Linked DNA regions of Homo sapiens: region 1 is linked to region 2. The links are contacts of gene promoters, found by promoter capture Hi-C in human tissues and cell types (Jung and others, 2019). All regions are on one chromosome and are shown on one strand. Each heading gives the region's core, a stretch centred on a gene start or on the middle of the fragment in contact. The rest is flanking DNA. Distances are from core to core; before and after follow the strand shown. Region 1 holds the start of LOC124904905 (a long non-coding RNA gene). Region 2 holds the start of L3MBTL1 (L3MBTL histone methyl-lysine binding protein 1).

The links. The method cuts DNA at HindIII sites, captures the fragments that hold promoters and counts their contacts. A contact is called where the count stands out against the background at its distance.
Region 1: a contact is called between a fragment that was not itself captured here and the fragment with the promoter of L3MBTL1 in region 2, in 1 of the 25 tissues and cell types used here (dorsolateral prefrontal cortex).

What each region holds. Positions count from the first base shown.
Region 1 is chr20:41,691,007-41,697,791 of GRCh38, forward strand. LOC124904905 (a long non-coding RNA gene) reads right to left here and starts at 3,169. Exons shown (of 2, transcript XR_007067588.1): 1 at 2,330-3,169; 2 at 1,529-2,062. RefSeq lists enhancers at 1,964-2,173, 2,314-2,533, 2,754-2,993. The HindIII fragment of the contact is 3,648 bases long and covers 3,153-6,785 here.
Region 2 is chr20:43,505,115-43,511,726 of GRCh38, forward strand. L3MBTL1 (L3MBTL histone methyl-lysine binding protein 1) reads left to right here and starts at 2,583. Exons shown (of 22, transcript NM_001377303.1): 1 at 2,583-2,630. RefSeq lists a silencer at 2,464-2,793. The HindIII fragment of the contact is 9,495 bases long and covers 1-5,763 here.

The DNA of each region.
Region 1 (6,785 bases), core at 3,727-6,226, 1.8 Mb before region 2:
GTCAGGAGACCTCAGAGACCTGGGTATCTCTCCTTTCCATGGCCCTTTTTTGCATAAGGATGGCTCTGAAGGGAACCTTAAAACTTAGCCCATTTGAAATGGCCTATGGGGGGCCCTTTTTTAACTTCAGGCTTCCTGTTTGATGAGGAGACACACAGAATGCTTACTCATATTAACTTAGACCAGGTTCAAAAGGCCCTTCAAGAATATGGAAATAAGGTATTTCCCTTTTTCACAAACGAAAAAAAATAGCTCCCCTGTTCAACCAGGAGACAGAGTCCTATTAAAAACTTGGGAAGAAGGATCCCACGAGGATCAATTATAACCAAAATGGAAGGTACCCTACCAGGCATTGTTAAGCATCCCCACTGCTGTTAAACTTCAGGGAGTCACTAGATGGGTACACTTGTCCAGAATTAAACCTGTTTCTCATAAGTCCCCACAGGCACAAGAGGAGGACACTATGCCCACAAAATCAGTAGGAGGCAGTGACAGAGGATGGACCTCCATCCTTCTACAACACTTTACGATTAAAGAGGAGTATATAATCTCTGAAAGGGTAATGAGGTAGCAGATCAGCAGGGCTTGTTTTCTGAGCACTGGTCATAACCCTGCTGATCAGGACAGGATGTAGCAAATAAACCAGCCCAAACCAGCTAGGACTAGGAGTTTTACTACATTCGCACAAAGACACTCCCACAAGTGCATGACACTTTACAAATTCCATGGCAACATCTTGAAGTTACTTTATATGGTTCCAGGAGCTCCCTGCCCCTTTTCTAGAAAGTTTGTGAATAACCTGTTCCTTATTAAGCATATAACTAAGAGTGAATATAAAGATAGCTAGTCCATGAGTGCCACTCTGCCTATGGGATAGCTCTGCTCTGTCTACGGAGCAGCCATTTTCCTGTACATGTTGCTCAAATAAACTTGCTTTCTTTTACTGTTGGCTCACTCTTGAATTCTTTCCTGGTTGAAGCCAAGAACCCTCCCAAGCTGAGCCCCAGTTTTTGGGTTTGCCTGCATCAGTTCTACATTTCATTCTCATGCCATTCTAGTACAAACATGAAGTGTAGGGGTGAGGTGGGAGGCAATAAAGATAGTCCTTCCAAAGCCTTGTATTTCCACCAGGACTCTTGGCAGCGAATCCCTTTCCTCTATTGGTTAGCCTCCTTCCCCACAGTGCTGCAACCAGCTGGTTGTATTTAGGGCTTAGTTGAAGTCTGAAACCTTGATTTTAGTGGCACCAACCTGTGAGCTTAGGAGATGTATTCCTCCCCTCCAGTTGCACCTAGTAGACCCAAAATTAGACAACTGTATTAATTCAGGATTTGAGGTTGTTACAGAAGGAAATAAGGCAGGAGAGGATTCTTAGGATCTAAGTTGGCTAGGAGAAGAAATGAAACTAGGAGAAGACTAATAGAATGCAGAAGGGTCCCAGGACTTAAGTTTCTGAGGGACAGTCATGGGTGAGCACAAGGAGTGTGAACAGGTAGTGAAAAATGTCCTCAAAGATGAGGCAATCAAATGACTTGATTAATGGTTTATTCCCTAAGGCTCTAAAGCACATGGAATGGATCATTTTGGCTGCTGCAGAAACCATGGGTAAGAGAACATGGTGAGGTCCTATAGAGCCTACCAACCCAAGTCAAGGAGAGCCACAAGTTTCAGTGTATGCAAATATGAGGTCAGCGCCGGTTTGGGGAATAGGAAAGACGCAGGGGCTGTGTCGACTTTTGGAGGCCAGTCCAGAAGTCGAGTCCAGGCGATGGTAGGAGCTACTCCCCAGACCTGAGCACCTCTCCTAACAGCAGCTCAGGCAAAGGCCACGTCTCGGAACAGTTGGCTGCACAGGTCACGTGACGCGCCCCTAGCCCGGCTCTATTTGGCTGCAAGAGCGCTCTGTCGCCTGCCTCGGACTCTGTTTCCCAGAAGTCTTCCTGGAAACTACATTTCGCAGGGGGCTTTGCGGCGCCTACTTCCTCCTGGCTGATTAGATGGGACTGGTGCCGTTGGCCGGACGTTTTTGGGAGCTTCACAGGCTGATGGGGAAGGGCGAAACCTGCTCGATTAAAACAACCCGCATTTCGAGGCGAGGAAGCGAGTCACGGCTCGGCCCCTCCCTTTGTGAGGAGAACCAGGCCCGCCTCGGGGTCCCCTGGGCAATGTAGTAACGTGAAGGTCTCCGAGTCCCGCTAGCACTCCCGGGGCGTGGGGGTCCCAAGTGGGACTGGAACCACCGCGAAAGAGGCGGGGCTGCGCGGATCTTCCACACCAGCTCCTCCCTTCCGTCAGGGGGTGCTGCGCATGAACGTTTTCCCATCTCTACCTCTTGGTTATCCCTCAGCAGAGATTCTTCTTTTACTCTGTACAGTTTTCAGCATCCCTCAAGCTGATATTTCAATTAAACAAATTTTAGAATTCTGAGAAATGGCGAAATAATGTAAAAGAAACAAATGATATTGGCCCTAAATTATCCTCCAGCCCCTGCTGCTCATCGGACACTTTATGAGGTTACAAAGGACCATGGCGCTGCGCATATGGGGGATCCATTTTACCCACCGTACTTAGATCAGGCTGTGACTTCCGCCCTCGAGGAGCGGCTGCTGCTCTACCGGGTGTGCTCATTTAGCCCTAGCGTTGTTTGTGCGTTTGAGGACATTCGCTGAGCCAAGCTGCAAGGGTGTCGTTATCATTTTACGAGGGGAATACGGAGAGCATGGTGGATAAAAGGTGGTTGACCTGCCCAGGCTATACAGCTAGAAGTGCCGTTAGAACTTGGTACAGGTGGAACTGATTCTGATACTTGTCTCAAACTGTTACCAGTGGAGGGTGTTCAGGTTCTTGGTGTCTTGAACAAATAATTGGACAAAACGGCACAAACAAAGCAAGGGAATAATGAAGTAACAAAAGCAGAGATTTATTGAAAACGAAAGTACATTTCACAGGGTGGGAGCAGGCTGAGCATGGGGGCTCACGAGCGCTGTTATAGAATTTTCTGGGGGTTAAATACCCTCTAGAGGTTTCCATTGGTTAGTTGGTGTATGCCTTATGTAAATGAATAGGTTAAAAGTTACAAAGGCATTGTATGCCCTATGTAAATAAAGAGGATATTTCGGCGGGGAGTTGTGGCTTACACCTGTAATCCCAGCACTTTGGGAGGCCAAGGCGGGCGGATCACCTGAGGTCAGGAATTCGAGACCAGCCTGGTCAGCATGGTGAAACCCCATCTCTACTAAAAATAAAAATAAAAATAAATTAGCTGGGCGTGGTGGCATGCGCCTGTAATCCCCTGGTGGCTGAGGCAGGAGAATCACTTGAACCGGGCAGAGGTCACAGTGAGCCGAGATCGCGCCGTTGCACTCCAGCCTGGGCGACAGAACAAGACTCAAATAAATAATAAATAAATAAATAAAAAGGATGTGTCTTATCATAGCTGAAGTGTTTCATTTGATTTAATTCTAGCAAGTCCTTAAGTTCCCTGCCTCCAGGCCATATTCTGCCTCAAGACCTATCCTGTTTACTTCGTGTAGCATTAGTTTCTTTTTCCCAGGTTTGCTGCTACTTACTTGGTTAAGCCATGATCATCTCGGCTGTACTCACAGTCTCATAAATCCGGTGTTTATTGAGTGTTAGCACCGTGCCAGGCAGTGTGTTGAGTGCTGGGACATGGTGTTGAACAGGGGCAGACACAACCTTACCTTCATGGTGTTTACAGCCTAATGGGGAAGACAGTTACTGATCACATAATACAAATAAGAATAAAATGTCAAATTGCGATAAATAGAACACCCCCACCCCCAGGATGCTACAAGAGAGAATAATGGAGGAAAATTGATACATTAGATTGATTAGGGAAAGAAAGAAATGTTTGGTCTGAAATGCTTGAAGAAGGCTGAGAAGAAGGAAGCTGTGTAACAGCCAAGAGAAGAGTAGTCCAGGCAGAGGGATCAGCAAGTGCAAAGGCTCTGAGCGGGGAAGAGCTTGGTGTTTTGCAATTCAAGGAACTCAGAGAAGTCCCTTGTGATTGGAACACAGTGAAGTAGGGGAGAGTGGAACAAATTGAGACTGGCTTTCCTTTTACCAGTCTTGCCTCTTCTTTTCTTTTCTTTTTTTTGAGACAGAGTTTCACTCTTGTTGCCCAGGCTGGAGTGTAGTGGCACAATCTTGGCTCACCGCAACCTCCACCTCCCAGGTTCAAGCGATTCTCCTGCCTCAGCCTCATGAGTAGCTGGGATTATAGGCATGCGCCACCACGTCCGGCTAATTTTGTATTTTTAGTAGAGACGGGGTTTCTCCATGTTGGTCAGGCTGGTCTCAAACTCTTGACCTCAGGTGATCCACCCGCCGGGCCTCCCAAAGTGCTGGGATTACAGGTGTGAGCCACTGCACCCAGCCTAGTCTTGCCTCTTCTAAACCATATCCACACTGGCAGTATAGGAATATTTTCAGTACTCAAATATGATGACTTGACTTTCCTTTAGAGGCTTTGTGTCCCCTACAAGTTTTAGCTCAAACTCCTCAGCACAGTGCTCAGAGACCTTCGTAATTGGATTTACCTCACTTTCCAGTCTTCCTTTTTTGCAAGTTCTGTTATCTCTGCTTGGCATGCCCTCTCCTATGTGCTTGCTGATCAGGCAAACTTCTATTCACACTTTGTCTTGGCTGAAATATCATCACCTCTGTGCTCTCCTTGTGCACTCTCAATTCACTTCTTGTCCCCCTGCTGTGTAACTACTGGTTTGCCTACCAGTCTTTCCCAAGAGACAGTGAGCTCCTCCTCTTGGGGATGTGTTTTCTATCTTTGTATGATGCAGAACACAAGGCCTGGCAGTTGCTCTTTTCTTTCTTTCTTTTCTTTTTTTTTTTTTTTGAGACGGATTCTTGCTCTGTCGCCCAGGCTGGAGTCCAGTGCAATGTCGGCTCACTGCAACCTCCGCCTCCCGGGTTCAAGTGATTCTCCTGCCTCAGCCTCCCAAGTAGCTGGATTACAGGCATGCGCTACCACGCCCAGCTAATTTTTTGTATTTAGTAGAGATGGGGTTTCACCATGTTGGTCAGGCTGGTCTCAAACTCCTGAACTCAGGTGACCCAAAGTGCTGGGATTACAGATGTGAGCCACCACACCTGGCCATTGCTGTTTTCATAACAAATATTCATTAAGAGAATGAGTGGAACAGCTAGCCATGACTAGCCTCCACTTGTCACCTGATGAGAAGGTGACATGTGGTTCTTATCCTTGGCAGAGTGGAAATTAGCATCCAAAAGGACGCAAGAAGAGATGAGTAAAAAATCTACACTTACCCATGAGCCAGATACTGTCTCATCCACTGTCTCATTTAATCTTTGTGACAATCATAGTTCTCAGTTTTTGCTGCTAAGAAAACTGGTGCCCAAAGGCTCTGCCTAAAGATTACCCAACTAGTAATGGAGAACCTCGGTAGGAAATTGGGTCTTTCTGATCTCAAAGGTTGAGCCCCTCAATATTCCTTCTGTTCTTTTTGCCCCATCTGGCACCCGTTACTAGCACAGAAGCCCGGAAAGTTTAAGAAACAACTTCTGTCTCTGGTGTGTCATTTGTACCTCTGAGGACATCAACTTGGAACAGCCATTGTACCAGAGTTCTGTCTTTTCCAGGAATCAGTGACTCATATCAGTCTCTGCTGATATCAGCTGCTGAAGGGCTTAGGAGAACTGGTAGGACTCAGAGGAGCAGAAAATCCAGGAAAGGGCACTCTTGGCCAGTGCTGTTTAATAGAACTCTTTCAGATGAGTAAAATGTTCCATATTTGTGCTTTCCAGTATGGGAATGTCTCAAGTTCCTTTTTAGACAGTATCTCCAGCCCCCTCATTGGTTCCTGACTTCAGGCTGTTTCCAAGACATTCAACTTGAGACTACAGATCCCTGGGCTAGGTCTTCAAGGGCCCTCCAGATCCAAGCTATGCCTCAGTTTTAGCTGAAGTTGTGTCCAAGAACACAGGTCAGGGTACAGGGAGATGGGATACGTATAGCTCCAGACATGGCCAGTGCATTGTTGATATTGCCACCCCAGCAAACTGCCTAGAACTTGGCCCAGAGCAGATGCTAGGTTAACATGGTAGATGAGTGAATTTACTTTCTCTTCCCCAGATTGGGGCTCCCTCACCTACTGCCATTGGCTTCTGGAATCCTTCTCTATCATTGTGAACTGATGACTTGCCACATGGTGAAGATTAACGAAGCCAGTGCTTTGAACCACCACCCTGACATTTTGGGGGTAGGTCAGGGGGGTAGCTACAAAACCAGCTAGTAATAATTCATTGAAAATATGCTGGATCCAGCATTTTTATGTAATGACCTCATTTTTCTTGTGAAACCCTGTGTGCAAAATGAAAGCCCAAATGAGCATCTGCTATATACAGTTAGGAGTAGGGTGGTGCTGGGGAAAGAGGACTGATCTAGGAGTTACCCTGGACCTGGGGCTCATAGGCTGTATGACCTTGAACAAGATGCTCAATGCTTCTGTGCCCCAGTTTTCTCTCAAGTAAAATAAAAACATTGGACTCTAAGCTTCTTTCTACAGTTAATGTGAATGTTTAAAAAATGGCTGGTCACATCTGTGATCAACCTACATTAAGCACCTTTCAAGTGATTACTTGCTTCAATTAGGTCCATTTTCATTGTTTACTTTTACTAACAGTTTTTTTTCTTAACCCTTCCACTTCCAGTGCCTTCCTCATTCTTCACTATTTTTTGATTGTTTCTTCAGATTCTGATAAATCATCTTCATTTCCAGCCATTGAAT
Region 2 (6,612 bases), core at 1,333-3,832:
TGAAGAGCACACAGTAACACACGTCTACTGAGGCTTCGGGAGCTGTAAATACTCAACCCTAGATGCTGCTGTGGGGTTGGAGCCCACGCTCCCCACTACCTGCCCGTCTGTATGCTCCCCCTAGGGTTTGAGTTGCAGGGCACTGAGGAAGCAAGCCACTCCCCCGCTGTCACACACCCTGCTAGGGGGATAAGGGAACTTTTCTTGTTTCATTACTATGTTGACCAGGCTGGTCTTGAACTCCTGGCGTCAAGCAATCCTCCCACGTTGGCATAAGTGCTGGGATTACAGGTGTGAGCCACTATGCCTGGCGTAAACAACAGTCTTCTCAGTGCTTTGACTCATCAATATTTCAAAATATTTTGGGTCCATGCTTGAGCAGGGGGTTAACATGGAGAAGACAATGGGGGCTGTGAACTTGTGAAGAGGGGGCTATCACTTGAGGGGAGGACTGGACTTGCTTACTTGCTCCTGAAGGCAGACTGGTACTGGAAGGGGAAACTCTGGCTTCATGAGGCAGAAACTTCTCCAAATCATATTAACGTGGTAGCAGCTCTTCACCCCAGGATTTGGTGATCTTGATACCTGGTTTGTTTGTTTGACCCCTGTTCAAGCCAACAAGCCAGGTATCAAGACCACAAAAATACAGTTTTTTTCTTGGGTGAGGAGAGAGATTTTTTGTTTGTTTAGACAGGATTTCTCTCTGTTGCCCAGGCTGGAGTGCAGTGGCTCACTCATGGCCCACTTCAGCCTTGAGCTCCTGGACTCAAGCGACCCTCTCACCTCAGCCTCCCTAGTAGCTAGGGAGGACTACAGTTATGCGCCACCACACCCAGCTAATTTTTTTTTTTTTTTTTTTGTAGAGACAGGATTTTGCCATGTTGCCCAGGCTGGTCTCAAACTCCTGGGCTCAAGCAATCCTCCCACCTCAGCCTCCCAAAGTGCCGGGATTACAGGCGTGAGGCACAAAAATACTGTCGATAGCCAGAAAAATAATGTCTTAGCAACTCACATCCATGTTAGTTGTTTGTTTCTAGGTCTTGCTAGCTCAAATTCCACTTATCCGTCTTAATCACCATCTAAAAGATGCCTTTGTTTTTGAGAATCCATGTGTTTGTGTAGGTTCACCACTTTCTTTTAATCTTCTGAATACCTAAAATAAACCTTTGAAATCTAGATCACGCACAGTCTAGGTTGAGATGAGAGAATACTGAGCGGATGGTTGTGTATGTATCAATGTGTAGAAAAAGGCATCCATCGTTATGGCAACCAGCATCCTTAACTGATGCAATCCTGTTCCCAATAATATGAGATGTGATTAAAAATTGACATTGCAGCAAGGAAGAACACATGCAATGCGTTGGCGTGGCAACCGGAATAGTTAAATTCTGCATAAATTTAAACCTGTCGATCACAGCAATTTGGAGAATTTGCCTACATTTCATTAGGAACCCTTTTCTCATCTGGCCTGGGAGGGAATCAGGAGCCTGGTGGTCTGACATGTGGCCATGACTTAAGGCCAAGTAAAATCAAGGGATTAAATTAAATCATTGGTGTGGGAGAGGGGCTGGATGGTGGACTGTACCAAAAGTTACCCTGTTTTCATCTGCATACCCTACATCATTTAGTCACTCAACAGATATTTATTAAGCACCCACTCTGTGCCCCGCTCTGGGCTAGGTACTAGGAATACAAAAACTAATATTTCCTACCCTCTTGGAGCTTGAAACCTCTTAGCCTCTGGAATTACTCAAATCTATGTGAAGTGCCAGCTGTGGTATGTGTAAGCGAGACAGGTATCTTGTGTTACCAGAACCAATAACAAGGAGATTTGATTAATTAGAGAGATCAGGTGGAGGCGAAGAGATCAGTCAAAGTGAAGCAGAGAGGGGCAGTGATTGCTACACCACCACAGGAACCCAAACTGAAAACGACCATACGCCATGAAGTGGGTGATAGTCTTTACCAATGTCGAAATGGAGGACCTGGGGGATACTGATGTTACCCAGCCCTTCGCAGTGGGGTCACCCAAAAGTAGACGCGGCTAATGCCGCTCTTTATGCCCGGCAGGGCCAGGACCAGAGTCCCCGCACGAGGGTTCCTCTCTCCGGTCGCACGTGCCCTTCACCCTTCCTGAGGCCGTTTTCTGACGCTCCTGAGCTCCCCTCCAGGGTGAGGGCAGGCGCGGTGGGAAGGCGTTGGACAGAGCAGACACTCGGCTGGGGTGCATGCCTGGGTGCAGCCTCGTCTTTTGTCACTAACCACTCAGCTCGGTAGCCCTCCAGGCTCTCTCTTCGAGCTCCGCGGTCCCTGCGCCCCCGCTGCGCTCTGCTAGCTGTGATGCAGGGGTTCGGGGGCAGGAAAAATCTCGACCCGCCACGCCCGTGCGGCAAACCTGTCCTAGGTTGAGGGGGCATGAGGCGCGCACAACCAGGGCCTCGAAGGCAGGCAAGAGGGCGCGGGCGCCACAGAAGCCTGGGCCTGCGCCTGGGCCGGGCAGATGTGCCCGGCGCTCGGGCCCCGCGCTCTGCGTCCTGCAGGGAGGCGGACCCGCCCCCCGAACGCGCAGGCGCGCGGCGCCCGGCTCGGACCGTAGCTAGGCGCTGGGCGGCCACCGGCTGGCCAGGCAGGTAAGCAACCAGCGGTGCGTGGGCTCAGACCTTGCGTCCCCTGGGCGCCGCGCCACCCCGCTCCGTCCAGGGCGGCGAGGGCTCAGGTCTGCGGCCCCGGCGTCTCGCTCCTTCCGAGCGCCTCCGGCGGGGGGCGCGGGCTGGGGAGGAGGTTCGGGAAAACGCCGGGGAAAGCGGTCTGGGCGGAGCGCGCAGGGGGCCAGGCGGGTGCGGGACTCCAGGCCCAGCCGACCCTGCGGCGTGGCTTCGGGCTGCGATCAGGAGGGGCGAGGAGGGTGGAGGCTGCGTGTTTGGAGATACGCAATCAATTAAGAGTTTTTTTATTAATGGAAAGGTGTGGAGGGCGGGGTTTTGGTTTTCTTGGGAAATGAATGAGTCATTTGGCAAACTTTCCTACCATTAATTTTGGATTTTTATAATGGAATATGGAATTTTTTTTGTTTCTCTCTCTTTTTTTTTTTTTGGCCATAAAGAGAAAGAATAAAAAGAATTCCGCCATTTTAGCGTTTTAAAAAGTAACCGTTCTGCGGAACTGTCGGATCAGTGACCGCCCCGCCCGCCTTTGCCTATACCAGTCCCGGGAGGCTGGTGGCGGGTCCCGATCCTGGAACCCTGCGCTCAGGGCCGCTTCCGTCCCCTCCCGAGTCCGGGAAGCAGCTGCGGCGAGGGGCGGGGCCGAGGCCCCAAGTTTGTAGCGCTCAGCCTTGCTGTGTGTTGTTTTCTGGGTAGCTGTCGAGGGCTCTACTCCCCACCCAACACCTATAGTAAGGACATTTATTGGTCGTTTTTGTATACAAGGCCTTGGAAGGCAAGGGATTGAGAAAACCTTGTCAGACATCAAGAGAAAATACCCATGGACACATTCAGCCAACAGATATTTATTGAGCATCTGCTATGTGCACGGCTCTGGGCTGGGGCTACAATGGTTGTTTTAGGTCGGGTCCCCCGAAACAGACTCCGATAGCAAGATTTGAGTGTAGGTTTATCGGAGTGCTCTTGCGAATATCACCAGTAGGGGAATGACGGGTTGGGCGGAAGAAGAAGCTGAACTGCTGATGTAGTCTCAACAGAGGCCTCAGCCTGACCTAATGGAAGCTCTGGAACTGAGATGGCCCTGCAGAGGTGTTCCAAAGTAAGGCAAGGGGGTGGGGTCTTTACACCTCATAGCAACTCGTCATTGGCTGGCGGCTTCTAGGAGAGCCTTCAAGTGAGGTAGCTCCCTAGGCTCAGAGCAGTTCCAAGAGAGGCTGACGGCAGAAGGCTGAAAACTTTCTTCAGTGTCCACCAGAAACCCAGACTCTTCTGAGTCCCCCCTCACTTCATGGCAGACTCCTTCTCAGTCCCTTTTGCTAGACCCTTTTCCTCTTCCCAACCTATAAATGTGGGTGTGCTCCAAAGTTCCCACTTTTTTCTTTATACTCAGTTATGTGGTTTTTTCTTTTTTCTTTCTTTCTCTCTCTCTCCTTCCTTCCTTCCTCCCCTCCCCTCCCCTTTCTCTCTGACAGGGTCTTGCTCTGTCGCCCAGGCTCGAGTGTAGTGGTGTGATCATAGCTCACTGCAGCCTTTACCTCCCAGGCTCAAGCAACCCTCCCACCTCAGCCTCCCCAGTAGCTGGGACCACAGGGGTGCACCACCATGTTCAGCTAATTTTTAAAATCTTTTGTTGAGGCTGAGGCCTCACTATGTTGGCCATGCTGGTCTCAAACTCCTGGGCTCAAGTGATCCTCCCACCTTGGCCTCCCAAAGTGCTAGGATTACAGGCATGAGCCACCAGGCCTCGCCCCAGTTCTGTGGTTTTAAATGCCATCTACACATGCTGGTCTTCAAATTTATACCTCCAGCCCCAACCTCATCCATTATCTCCAGAATATAAGCTTCATGAGAGCATTTTGTCATGTTTGTGACTGTAACCCCAGAGCACAGAATGGTGGTGACACCTACTTGGTCCTCCCATGCTTGCTGGAAAAGAGGCAGCGAACCCAAACAGAAACGTAGTCTTCAAATCCAGCTTCTTCAATAGACCTGAGATGTGACAGGTTTTGACACAGAGTGAAATTCTTTCAGAAGTAACCACATTCACTCTTAACTGCCAGTGTTTCAAATAAAAAGATTAACTCTATTTATTTATTTATTTATTGAGACAGGGTCTCATTTTGTCACTCAGGCTGGAGTGCAGTGGCGCGATCTTGGCTCACTGCAACCTCCACCTCCTGGGTTCAAGGGATTCTCCTGCCTCAGCCTCCTGAGTAGCTGGGATAACAGGCGTGTGCCACCATGCCCAGCTAAATTTTTGTACTTTTGGTAGAGATGGAGTTTCAACATGTTGTCCAGGCTGGTTTTGAACTCCTGGCCTCAAGTGATTGGCCTCCCAAAGTGTTGGGATTACAGGTGTGAGCCACCACGCATGGCCTGCCTGGCTAACTTTTGTACTTTTTGTAGAGATGGGGTTTCACCATGTTGCCCAGGCTGGTCTCCAACTCCTGAGCTCAAAGCGATCCACCCACCTTGGCCTCCCAAAGTGCTGGGATTATAGGCGTGAGCCACCACGTCCAGCCTAACTCTAAAGGTATTTAAAATAGTACAAGTACTTCAGCTGTGCAAAGCAAATTGGAATTGAAATTCAGGGAATTATGTTTTATAATTTTCTTTCTTTCTTTCTTTCTTTTTTTTTTTTTTTTGAGGTGGAGTCTTATTCTGTTGCCCAGGCTGGAGTGCAGTGGCATGATCTTGGCTTACCGCAACCTCCACCTCCTGGGTTCAAGCAATTCTCCTGCCTCAGCCTCCCAAATAGCTGGGATTACAGGCGCCTGCCACCACACCTGGCTATTTTTTTTTTATTTTTTTGTGTTTTTAGTAGCAATGGGGTTTCACCATGTTGGTCAGACTGGTCTTGAACTCCTGACCTCAGGTGATCTACCCACCTCGGCTTCCCAAAGTGCTGGGATTAGAGGCGTGAGCCACTGCGCCCAGCTAATTTTTTTTTTTTCTTTAGAGACAGGGTCTCGCTCTGTCACCTAGACCGGAGTACAGTGGTGAGATCATGGCTCACTGCAGCCTTGACCTCCCGGGCTCAAGCAATCCTCCTGCCTCAGCCTCTGGAGTAGTTGGGACTACAGGCATATACTGCAACACCTGGCTTATTTTTATTTTTTAATTTTTTATAGAGACAGAGTCTCCCTGTGTTGCCTAGGCTGGTCTTGAACTCTTGGGCTCAAGCAGTCCTCCCACCTCAGCCTCCAGAGTACTGGGATTACAGGTGTGAGCCACTGCATTGGGCCCATACAGTGTTTTTTTGTTTTGGTTTTGGTTTTTGGTTTTTGAGATGGAGTCTTGCTCTGTCTCCCAGGCTGGAGTACAGTGGGACGATCTCGGCTCACTGCAACCTCTACCCTCCACCTCCCGGGTTCAAGCGATTCTCCTGCCTCAGCCTCCCCAGTAGCTGGGATTACAGGCACATGGCACCAAGCCGGCCCCATACACTGTTTTTTATTAACAAGTTCAAGTTACTGAAATCCAACACAAGGACTTATTAAGCACCTACTATGTGCCAGGTACTAAGTGTTGGGGATACAGCAATGAATAAGACAGACGGTCAGCATTTATGTGGAGATGACTGATCAAACACAGAAATAAATAATTGAAGATCACTATTGATTATAATGAAGGATGAGAAAGAAAGAAATATATAATAGTAATGAGACAGATAGTGGTGGGATGGGGTGAGGGGTGTGCTGCTGCTTTAAATTCCTTGGTCAGGCCGGACTCGATGGCTCACGCCTATAAACCCAGCACTTTGGGAGGCCGAGGTGGGCGGATCACCTGAGGTCAGGAGTTCCAGTCCAGCCTGGCAACATGGTGAAACCCCGTCTCTACTAAAAATACAAAAAATAGCCAGGCTATGTGGTATGTGCCTGTAATCCCACCTAGTCAGGAGGCTGAGGTAGGAGAATTGCTTGAACCTGGGAGGCAGAGGTTGCAGTCA